3 separate regions of the Homo sapiens genome follow, and regions 1 and 3 are each linked to region 2. Evidence: promoter capture Hi-C in human tissues and cell types (Jung and others, 2019). All regions are on one chromosome and are shown on one strand. Each heading gives the region's core, a stretch centred on a gene start or on the middle of the fragment in contact. The rest is flanking DNA. Distances are from core to core; before and after follow the strand shown.

Region 1 (2,833 bases), core at 67-2,566, 180 kb after region 2:
TTTGCAGGGACGTGGATGAAGCTGGAAACCATCATTCCCAGGAAACTACACAGGAACATAAAACCAACCACCACACATTCTCACTCATAAGTGGGAGCTGAACAATGAGAACATATGGGCACAGGGAGGAGAACATCACACACTGGGGCCTGTTGGGGAGTGGGGGGCTAGGGGAGGGATAGCATTAGGAGAAATACCTAATGTAGATGTCGGGTTGATGGGTGCAGCAAACTACCATGGCACATGTATACCTGTGTAACAAACCTGCACATTCTGCACATGTATCCCAGAACTTAAAGTATAATAACAACAACAACAACAAAAAACAAGAAAACATGTATTAAGAAAGAAAGAAAGGTTTTTGGTGCTAATGATCAAGAACCTTTCTGCGATATCATCTAGGATCTAGGATCCAGGATCCAGGTGTTTTCTGACTCTGTCTTTCACACTGATGGTTGGTACTCCTTATGGCTCATGGGTGGAGCCTGTGGCATCAGGGCTACCTGTGCCTTTGTTCACATGTGGTAAGAGAAAGAGAGAACTTAGTAATTCTCTTACAAAGCCAGAAAGCTTCATTCTCAAAAGCTTCCATGAGACCTCTTCTCCCTTGTCTGTGGCCCAGATTGGATCACGTGCCTATTGGTAAACCAACCTATGGGAATGGGAGTGGCATCCCTTTTAGATAATCAGGTTGATTCCAGGATTCTGGGTAGACAGCTTAAATGTTCACTTGTGCACAGAAGATTGAGTGCAGTTTAAACATGTCAAGGAGCTGGTGGCATAACAAGGTTGCAACTTGCTTCAGAGGTTACATTTATGAGTCTGGATTCTGAAAGGAGCAATATGTGTTTTAAAGGAAAAAAGCAAGAGACAGTGTTCTTGAATTCTTCAGTGTTTTCAGACTCTTTCTGTGAATGTGTTACTCTGAAAGTTTGTAGTAGTACAGACCTGGCCAGTTTTGTACAAGCAAAGCGGAGCAAACATTCAGTCCACTGATTCCCAAGGTGCTGAGGACAGAAGTTAGTGGAACAGTCCACGGTGGTGTAAGCTGAGTACTGACACTTTCCTCATTTACCAGCTAATTCTCCCTTTTACCATTTGATTTGACTTTGCCGAAATTGGTCAGATGGGTAAGGTTTGGGTGGCTGAAGCATATGACACTTTTCAGTTTTAGAGCTCATTAGGTGTTTTTTACCAGTATTTCAACTTGATGCATTACAAATTTGATATAATTCAGGGAAAGGACCTGTATGGGATAAGAAGTAATCAAAATTATTCTGACCTTTTTATGTAGTGTTTCACCATAAACATATTGTTTACTTTTGTCTCTTCTTTAAGGAATATATACAGCATTAAAAGATGAGAGTTAAGTAAACTCTGGGCTATCATACAGTGGAATATGAATAAAATACATACATACACACACCCCCTTCCTTAATCCCTCCCCACACCCCTAAACTTTTCTGGCAGAGGCAGTCGTGCCCACCAAATATTCTAATTGCTTTCCGCATTTCCCAGCCACCTTTCAGTTGCGTGGGCATGTGTCTCATGATGGACAATGGGCTGTGAAAGAGATACATTTTTCTTACAGGCCATGGCAGTAAAAGATCCATGCAGAATTCTTCCTGTTTTTCTCCCATGAGGAGACTGAAGGGACCATGGATTCCAGATGGGCAGCTATAAAATGGAAGGATCTCTGTTAGTTTGAGTCGCTGAGTGACTGTGTGAAGCCTGTGTGGAGCTGAGCCTCTTGTTGACCCTTGTAGGCCATTTAACATGGGGGAGAAATGAACTTTTGTTCTGTTCATCCACTGGCATTTGGAATTGTTACAGGAGCACAATGAATACATACCTCCTTTCAATATTTACTCTTTGTCTGGAAGCACCTTTCTCAAACCTAATCCTTACCTCCTTGCCTGCTCACCCAGTAGAGCCTACATAAAAGTTTCTCTCTTTTTGATATCTCAGTGTTGCCATTATAGATCTCAGTTATTGTGCTGATCTGTTATTACTCATCAGCATAGATGCCATCAGGACCTACTAAGCTAAGTAGGGTCATTTGCTTTAAGAGATGAACTGAGTTGAGTAGTAAAATGTATTCCCTAAAAAAGCATGTGTGAATCTACAGTAACTGGAGTAACTAGTCTTATGAAAAATTGGAGACTAGAAAATTGCATTCAAGGTTTGGTAGCTTGATATTTTGTTAAATCAGTACTATTTCCGTTCCTCCCCCAAGTTTGTTTAGTTTCATTTTTTAAAAAGACTTTATTGAGGATAATCGACATAAGAAGGTGTACATATTTAATGTATACAACTTGATGAGTTTGGAAATAAGTATATATCCAAGAGACCATCACCACAAGCTATCCACCCTCTCTGAAAGTTTCCTCCTGTCCTCTTTATTATTGTTTTTTTCCTGAGAAAAACACTTCATATAATATCTACCCTCTTAGCAAATTAAGTATACAGTACAGTGTTGTTATCTCCAGGCAGTGTGCTTTACAGTAGATCTCTAGGAATTATTTGTGTTGTCCAAATTATACACTGTTGTATTCAAGTTATATACAAGTTGTACCTTGATAGTTCAAGTTTAATAAATCTCTTTGTAGTTACCCATGAGATCTGATAGAAGATCTGGCTAATATTTCTGAAGAAATTATTCCTTGGAGAATGAAGTAGCTTTTAGAAACATATTTTTATGTCCCAGAGGAACCCCAAGACCTGTTCTTCACTAACATTATAGGCCGTCATAAATAACCTACCCACACACCACGAAAATTGTCTTTGGTTTGGAGCAGAGGTCAAAAAGTGGGACCCATGCTTGCTTTGGCCC
Region 2 (2,872 bases), core at 273-2,772:
TGGATAGAAATTAACAGTAATTAACAAGTTTATAAAAGGAACACATGGTGGTGAATCAGAGCAGTTAAGTGTGCAGATGCTCTCAGTTCTTCAGGAGGTGACTCTGGGCAGGAGGGGTCTCCGCTCAAAAAGGTAAGACTTTATATAAAGACCCACAGACCTGGGTCTGATTAATTGGCTGTATTATCTGCTGCTGGACAACCTTAGTCAAGTTACTTTATTTCCCACGGTCTCAGTTTCCTCATCTGTACCCATCACAGGGTCAATTCCTGTTAACTAGGCAGCTGAACCTGAAATAATTTTGATTTACCTTCAGCATATTCCATGATTATCCAGAGGCCTGTGCCAGTGATATGGCTCTTCCTACATGTGAGCCAGGCAGCCTCCTTCTGTGGCGCAGTGACAAACTGCTATCCCCATCATTCCTCCCCGCAAGTCTTTGTACTTTGGGTCATAAAATAATAGGCTATGAATCTGTGTGAACTGGGAAAACAGAGTTCCAAGGGCACACCCAGTACGAGCGAGTCTCCTCTTCCCCCGCGCTTCATATCCAAGCTTGACAGAGGCCGTGGGTGGGCTGGCCCTCGGCAGTGAGGCTCAGAGGTTACTGGCCGTCATCTGTCAGAGACTGACCTTGAAAACAGAGAAAAGCCCTCAGTCCCTGACAAGACAGCCCTGCCCACGTGCCAGCTGGATCCAGCTCGCCAACACAGCGATCTCCGAGCCCCTTTTCTACTTAAAAAAAAAAAAAAGTCTGCTGAGTCCATTCCTTGAGAATCACAGAGAAAACAATTCCTTCCTTACTCCATTCAAGAAAAAAAAAAATTCCCTTTCTCAGAATAAAAAGAGTAAGCCTCTTGTCCACCTCTCGTGCAGCGGGCCACTTTGCTGGGAGGAGACGAGGTGTCTGGGTTTGAGCCCTTCCTGGAGGTATGAACTACATGCGAGCCACGTCCATGGCGATGCCTGCGAAAGACGGGCATGATTTCTTCTCCAAGCCTTCTTTTTCCTCTTCCTCACGTTCGAGCTTGTGGAACCAACTGGGGCTGTGAGTTTCAGGGTGTAGGGTATGTATGTAAACAGCGGAATTGTGTATGCGCTTAGTGTGCGTTCAGGACTCTGCTGTGCTTGAACTTGGCGTGTTTGTGTTTGTGTGTTTGGAGGATTATGAGAGCATGTAGGGGGAAGAGATTTGTATGTGTAAGTGCAGAAAAGTAGTAGTGTGTGTGATGTGTGTGTGTAGACAGGAATTACGTGGATACTCCATGTGCGTTCAGGAGTGTGTGTGTTTGAGGAGCTATGAAAGTGCATGTATGGAAAGGATTTATACGTGTAAGTGCAGAAAGTGGCAGTGTGTACGTGGTGTGTGTGTGCGCGCGCGAGTGTGTGAGCGCCAGGGGCCGCCCGCCCGCCGCGGCTCCCCGTGGGCTGGCCGGGCCAATGAGCGCGCGGCTGTAGGGGCGGCGGGCGGGGAGGGGGCGCCGAGCCCTGCGGATGGAGGCGCGGGCAGCGCGGCGCGCTCATTCCGCGCGGGCGTTGCTGGCGGGGGGCGGCGCAGCCACTGGACCCGGACCGGGGCCGCGACCCGGGGTGGCGGGTGGCGTGGGCGGCGCCCGGGGCTGGGATGCGCCGGGGGCTCAGTGGCGGCGGCGGCGTTGGCGGTGGCGTCGGCGGCTGCAGGGGGACGAGCTAGCGCCGCGGCGCTGGGAGCCAGTTGAGCCCGGCCGGCGAGCGGAGGCGGCAGCGCAGGCAGAGCGGCGGCGGCAGCGGGAGCCCGAGCGCTGCGCGCCCACCATGGCCGCCCAGGGAGAGCCCGGCTACCTGGCGGCGCAGTCGGACCCCGGCTCCAACAGCGAGCGCAGCACCGACTCCCCAGTGCCCGGCTCCGAGGACGACTTGGTCGCCGGGGCGACCCTGCACAGCCCGGAGTGGAGCGAGGAGCGCTTCCGCGTGGACAGGAAGAAACTTGAGGCCATGTTACAAGGTAGGCATCCCTCGTGTTCTCGGACTCTCCGACTGAGCCTCTAACTCCTTTTCGGACATCCCCACCGCGCGCTCCGGCGCCCGCTACTCCAGCCTACGGCCGGCCGGTTTAGCTCCAGGCCCGCTCCCCCGCGGAGCCGGAGGACACCCAGGGACTGGAGACTTCGCGGGACTCCCCACCCTTCCACGCCTCTCAGATTTCCAGGCGCTGGGGGCCCTGTGCGAACTTGACTGGCTTCAGAAAAGCCGAAGGCCGAGTTTGTACTGGCGCGCCCAAGTTGCGTTCTGGACTTTGGAGATGCCAACTTTAGCCCGGACACCTGGGCTGTGCCATCCGGACCACTCGGGCCGCACAGAGTATGCGTGACCCTCCCCATTCCCTGGCAGCCTCGAGTTCTGTCTCTCTCCGTCTGTTTCACTCTCTCCCCTTGTCAGTATCCACTTCCTCCAGCTGAGGGGCCTTGTCTCACTATTGGGAAACGCTCTGCAGATGTCAAGGCTTAAGACAGGAGCTCCCGCCCCCACCCCTGTGGTCAAGGAGGGCCAGGATCGGGGTGAGCAGCCAAAGCGAGGGGGGAGTGTGGAGGCAGTGCTGCTGTGTTTGAGGACAGTGTTCATCTCTTGACAGGCTTATAAAACACATCTTGAGTTACATTCAGTCCATAAAAATCTTCCTATGCTATGGGTGTCTGACTTTGTCTTTCACAACTTAGAATTATTTTTAACTCTTTAATTTCTTTGGGACTTTCCCAGGTAGAAAATCTTCAACCATACTGGACCGAAAACAGATTCTGATTTATAATACGAGTGTTGGAGTGAACGTCAAAACGTCCAAGGTCATTTTGACCTTTCTTAAAACAGATAATTACTAGCCTACCTGTAGCCACCG
Region 3 (2,780 bases), core at 122-2,621, 220 kb after region 2:
TTCCTTCCATGAAAGATTTCTCTGTAGCATGTGATGCTGTCTAATAGCATTTTATTCAGAGTAGAACTTCTTTTACAATTGTCATCAATCCTCTGAAACTCTGCCACTGCTTTATCAACTAAGTTTATATAGTATTATACATTTTTGGTTTTCATTTCAACAATCTTTGTAGCATCTTCATCAGAAGACAAAGAACCCATGTTCTTTGCTTATCCATTAGAAGCAATGTCTCATCCACTCAAGTTTTATCCTGAGATTGCAGAAATTCATTTATATCTTTAGGCTTAACTTCTAATTACAGTTCTCTTGCTGTTTTCACCACCACTGCAGCTACTCTCTTTACTGAAGTCTTGAACCCCCTCAAAGTCATCCATGAGAGTTGAAATCAACTTCTTCCAAACTCCCGTTATAATTGCTATTTTGACCTCCTCCTATGAATCATGAATGATACATAGAATAATACATCCTTTCCAGAGGTTTTCAATTTACTTTGCCGCAATCCATCAGAGGAATAACTGTGTCAGCTATAGTCTTACAAAATGTATTTCTTAAATAATAATAATAATAATACTTGAAAGTCATAATTACTCCTCTATCCATGGGGTACAGAAGGAATATTGTGTTAGCAGGCGTAAAAACATTAATCTTTTTGTACATCTTCATCAGACCTCTTTTGTGACCAGGTGCATTGTCAATGAGCAGTAATATTTTGTTTTTTATTTTAATATTAAAAAAAGGAATCTTTTTTTTCTGAGCAGTAAGTCTCAACAGTGGGCTTAAAATATTCAGCAAATCATACTGCAAACACATGTGCTGTCATCCAGACTTTGTTACATTTATAGAGAACAGGCAGAGTAGATTTAGCATAATTCTTGAGGATTCTGGGATTTTGGGAATGGTAAATGATCATTGGCTTCGACTTGTAGTCACCAGCTGCATTATCCCCTGTCAAGAGCATCAGTCTGTCTTTGAAAGCTTTGAAGGCAGACACTGACTTCTCCTTTCTAGCTAGGAAAGTTCTAGATGACACCTTTTTTTCCAACAGAAGGCTGTTTTGTCTACGTTGAAAATTTGTTGTTCAGTGTAGTCACCTTCATCAATTTTCATAGCTAGATCTTCTGGATAACTTGCTACAGCTTCTACATCAGCACTTGCTGCTTCACCTTGCATTTTAAAATTATGGAGATGGCATCTTTTCTTAAACTTTATGAACCTGTCAGTCTTAGCCTCCAACTTTTCTTCTTTAGCTTCCTTACCTCTCTCAGCCTTTAGAAAATTGAAGAGAGTTAGGGCTTTGCTCTGGATTAGGCTTTGTTGTGGCTTCTTACATTTTCTATTCAGATCACTAAAACTTTCTTCATATCAGCAATAAGGCTTGTGTTTGTTCCCACACAGCTTTAAAGAAATACCTGAGACTGGGTAATTTATAAAGAAAAGAGGTTTAATTGGCTCATGATTCCACAGGTTTTACAGAAGGTATGGTGGCATCTCCTTCTGGGGAGGCCTCAGGGAGCTTTTACTCATGGTGAAGGCCAAGTGGTAGCAGCCATCTTACATGACAGAAGCAGGATGAAGAGAGTGAAAGAGGCAGAGGTGCTACACACTTTTAAACAACCACATCTCGCAAGAATTCACTCACTATTGTGACGACAGTACCAAGGGGGACGCTGTTAAATCATCCATGAAGAATCCACCCAATGGTCCAGTTGCCTCCCACCAGGCCCCACCTCCAACATTGGAGATTACAATTCAACATGAGGTTTTGTGAGGACACAGATTTAAACCATATCTTTCTCCCCTGACCCCACAGATCTCATATCCTTCTCACATTGCAAAATACAATCATGCCTTCCCAACAGTCCCCCAAGTCTTAACTCATTCAGCATTAACTAAGATGTCCAAAGTCTCAGGTCTCATTTGAGACAAGGCAAGTCCCTTCTGCCCATGAGCCTGTAAAATCAAAAACAAGTTAGTTACTTCCAAGATACAATGAAGGTATAGGCATTAGGTAAAATACTCCAGTTCCAAAAGGTAGAAAACAGCAAAAAAGGGGGTTACAGGCACTATGCAAGTCAGAAACCCAGCAGGACAGTCATTAAATCTTAAAGCTCCAAACAAAATAATCTCCTTTGACTTCATGTCCCACATCCAGGGCACACTGGCATGAGAGGTGAGCTCCCAAGGTCTTGGGGAGCTCTACTCCTGTGGCCTTGTGGGGTTTAGCCCCTGTGGCTACTGTCATGGGCTGGCATTGAGTGCCTGTGGCTTTTCCAGTGCAGGGTGCAAGTTGCCAGTGGTTTACCCTTCCAAGGTTTGGAGGACAGTGGCCTTCTACTCACAGCTCCACTAGGCAGTGCCCCAGTTGGGACTCTGTGTGGGAGCCCCAACCCCACATTTCTCCTCCACACTACCCTATTAGAGGTTCTCAGTGAGGGCTCTGCCCCTGTAGCAGGCTTCTGCTTGGACATCTAGGCTTTTTCATATATCCTCTAAAATCTAGGCAGAGGCTCCCAAGCCTCAGTCTTTCTTTCTGTGTCCCTGTGATCTTAACACAGTGTAGAAACCACCAATGCTTCTAGCCTGCACCTTCTGAAGCAGAGTCCTGAGTGGTACCTTTGCTCTTTTGAGTCAGGGCTGCAGCTGGGGCAACAGGGATACTGGGAGCAGTGTTCTAAGGCTGTGCGGGGTTGCAGGGCCCTTGGCCTGGCCCAGGAAACCATTCAGCCCCCCTAGGCCTCCCTGCCTATGATGGGAGATTATGCAAATTCCTGCAGCCTGCT

The links. Contacts are between HindIII fragments. The study calls those that stand out against the background at their distance.
Region 1: a contact is called between a fragment that was not itself captured here and the fragment with the promoter of BICC1 in region 2, in 2 of the 25 tissues and cell types used here (IMR-90 fibroblasts and dorsolateral prefrontal cortex).
Region 3: a fragment that was not itself captured here is called in contact with the fragment with the promoter of BICC1 in region 2 in 2 of the 25 tissues and cell types used here (dorsolateral prefrontal cortex and hippocampus).

Annotation. Positions count from the first base shown.
Region 1 is chr10:58,688,724-58,691,556 of GRCh38, forward strand. All of the region lies in intron 2 of BICC1 (BicC family RNA binding protein 1), which reads left to right. Among named protein-coding and RNA genes, the nearest start is that of BICC1, 180 kb to the left of the region's middle. The HindIII fragment of the contact is 7,285 bases long and covers 1-2,833 here.
Region 2 is chr10:58,511,350-58,514,221 of GRCh38, forward strand. It overlaps BICC1 (BicC family RNA binding protein 1), which reads left to right and starts at 1,523. Exons shown (of 21, transcript NM_001080512.3): 1 at 1,523-1,984. The coding sequence starts at 1,795. It overlaps LOC124902427 (a long non-coding RNA gene), which reads right to left and starts at 703. Exons shown (of 2, transcript XR_007062147.1): 1 at 311-703. The HindIII fragment of the contact is 7,114 bases long and covers 1-2,872 here.
Region 3 is chr10:58,728,154-58,730,933 of GRCh38, forward strand. The region is part of intron 3 of BICC1 (BicC family RNA binding protein 1); the gene reads left to right. Among named protein-coding and RNA genes, the nearest start is that of BICC1, 220 kb to the left of the region's middle. The HindIII fragment of the contact is 3,764 bases long and covers 1-2,780 here.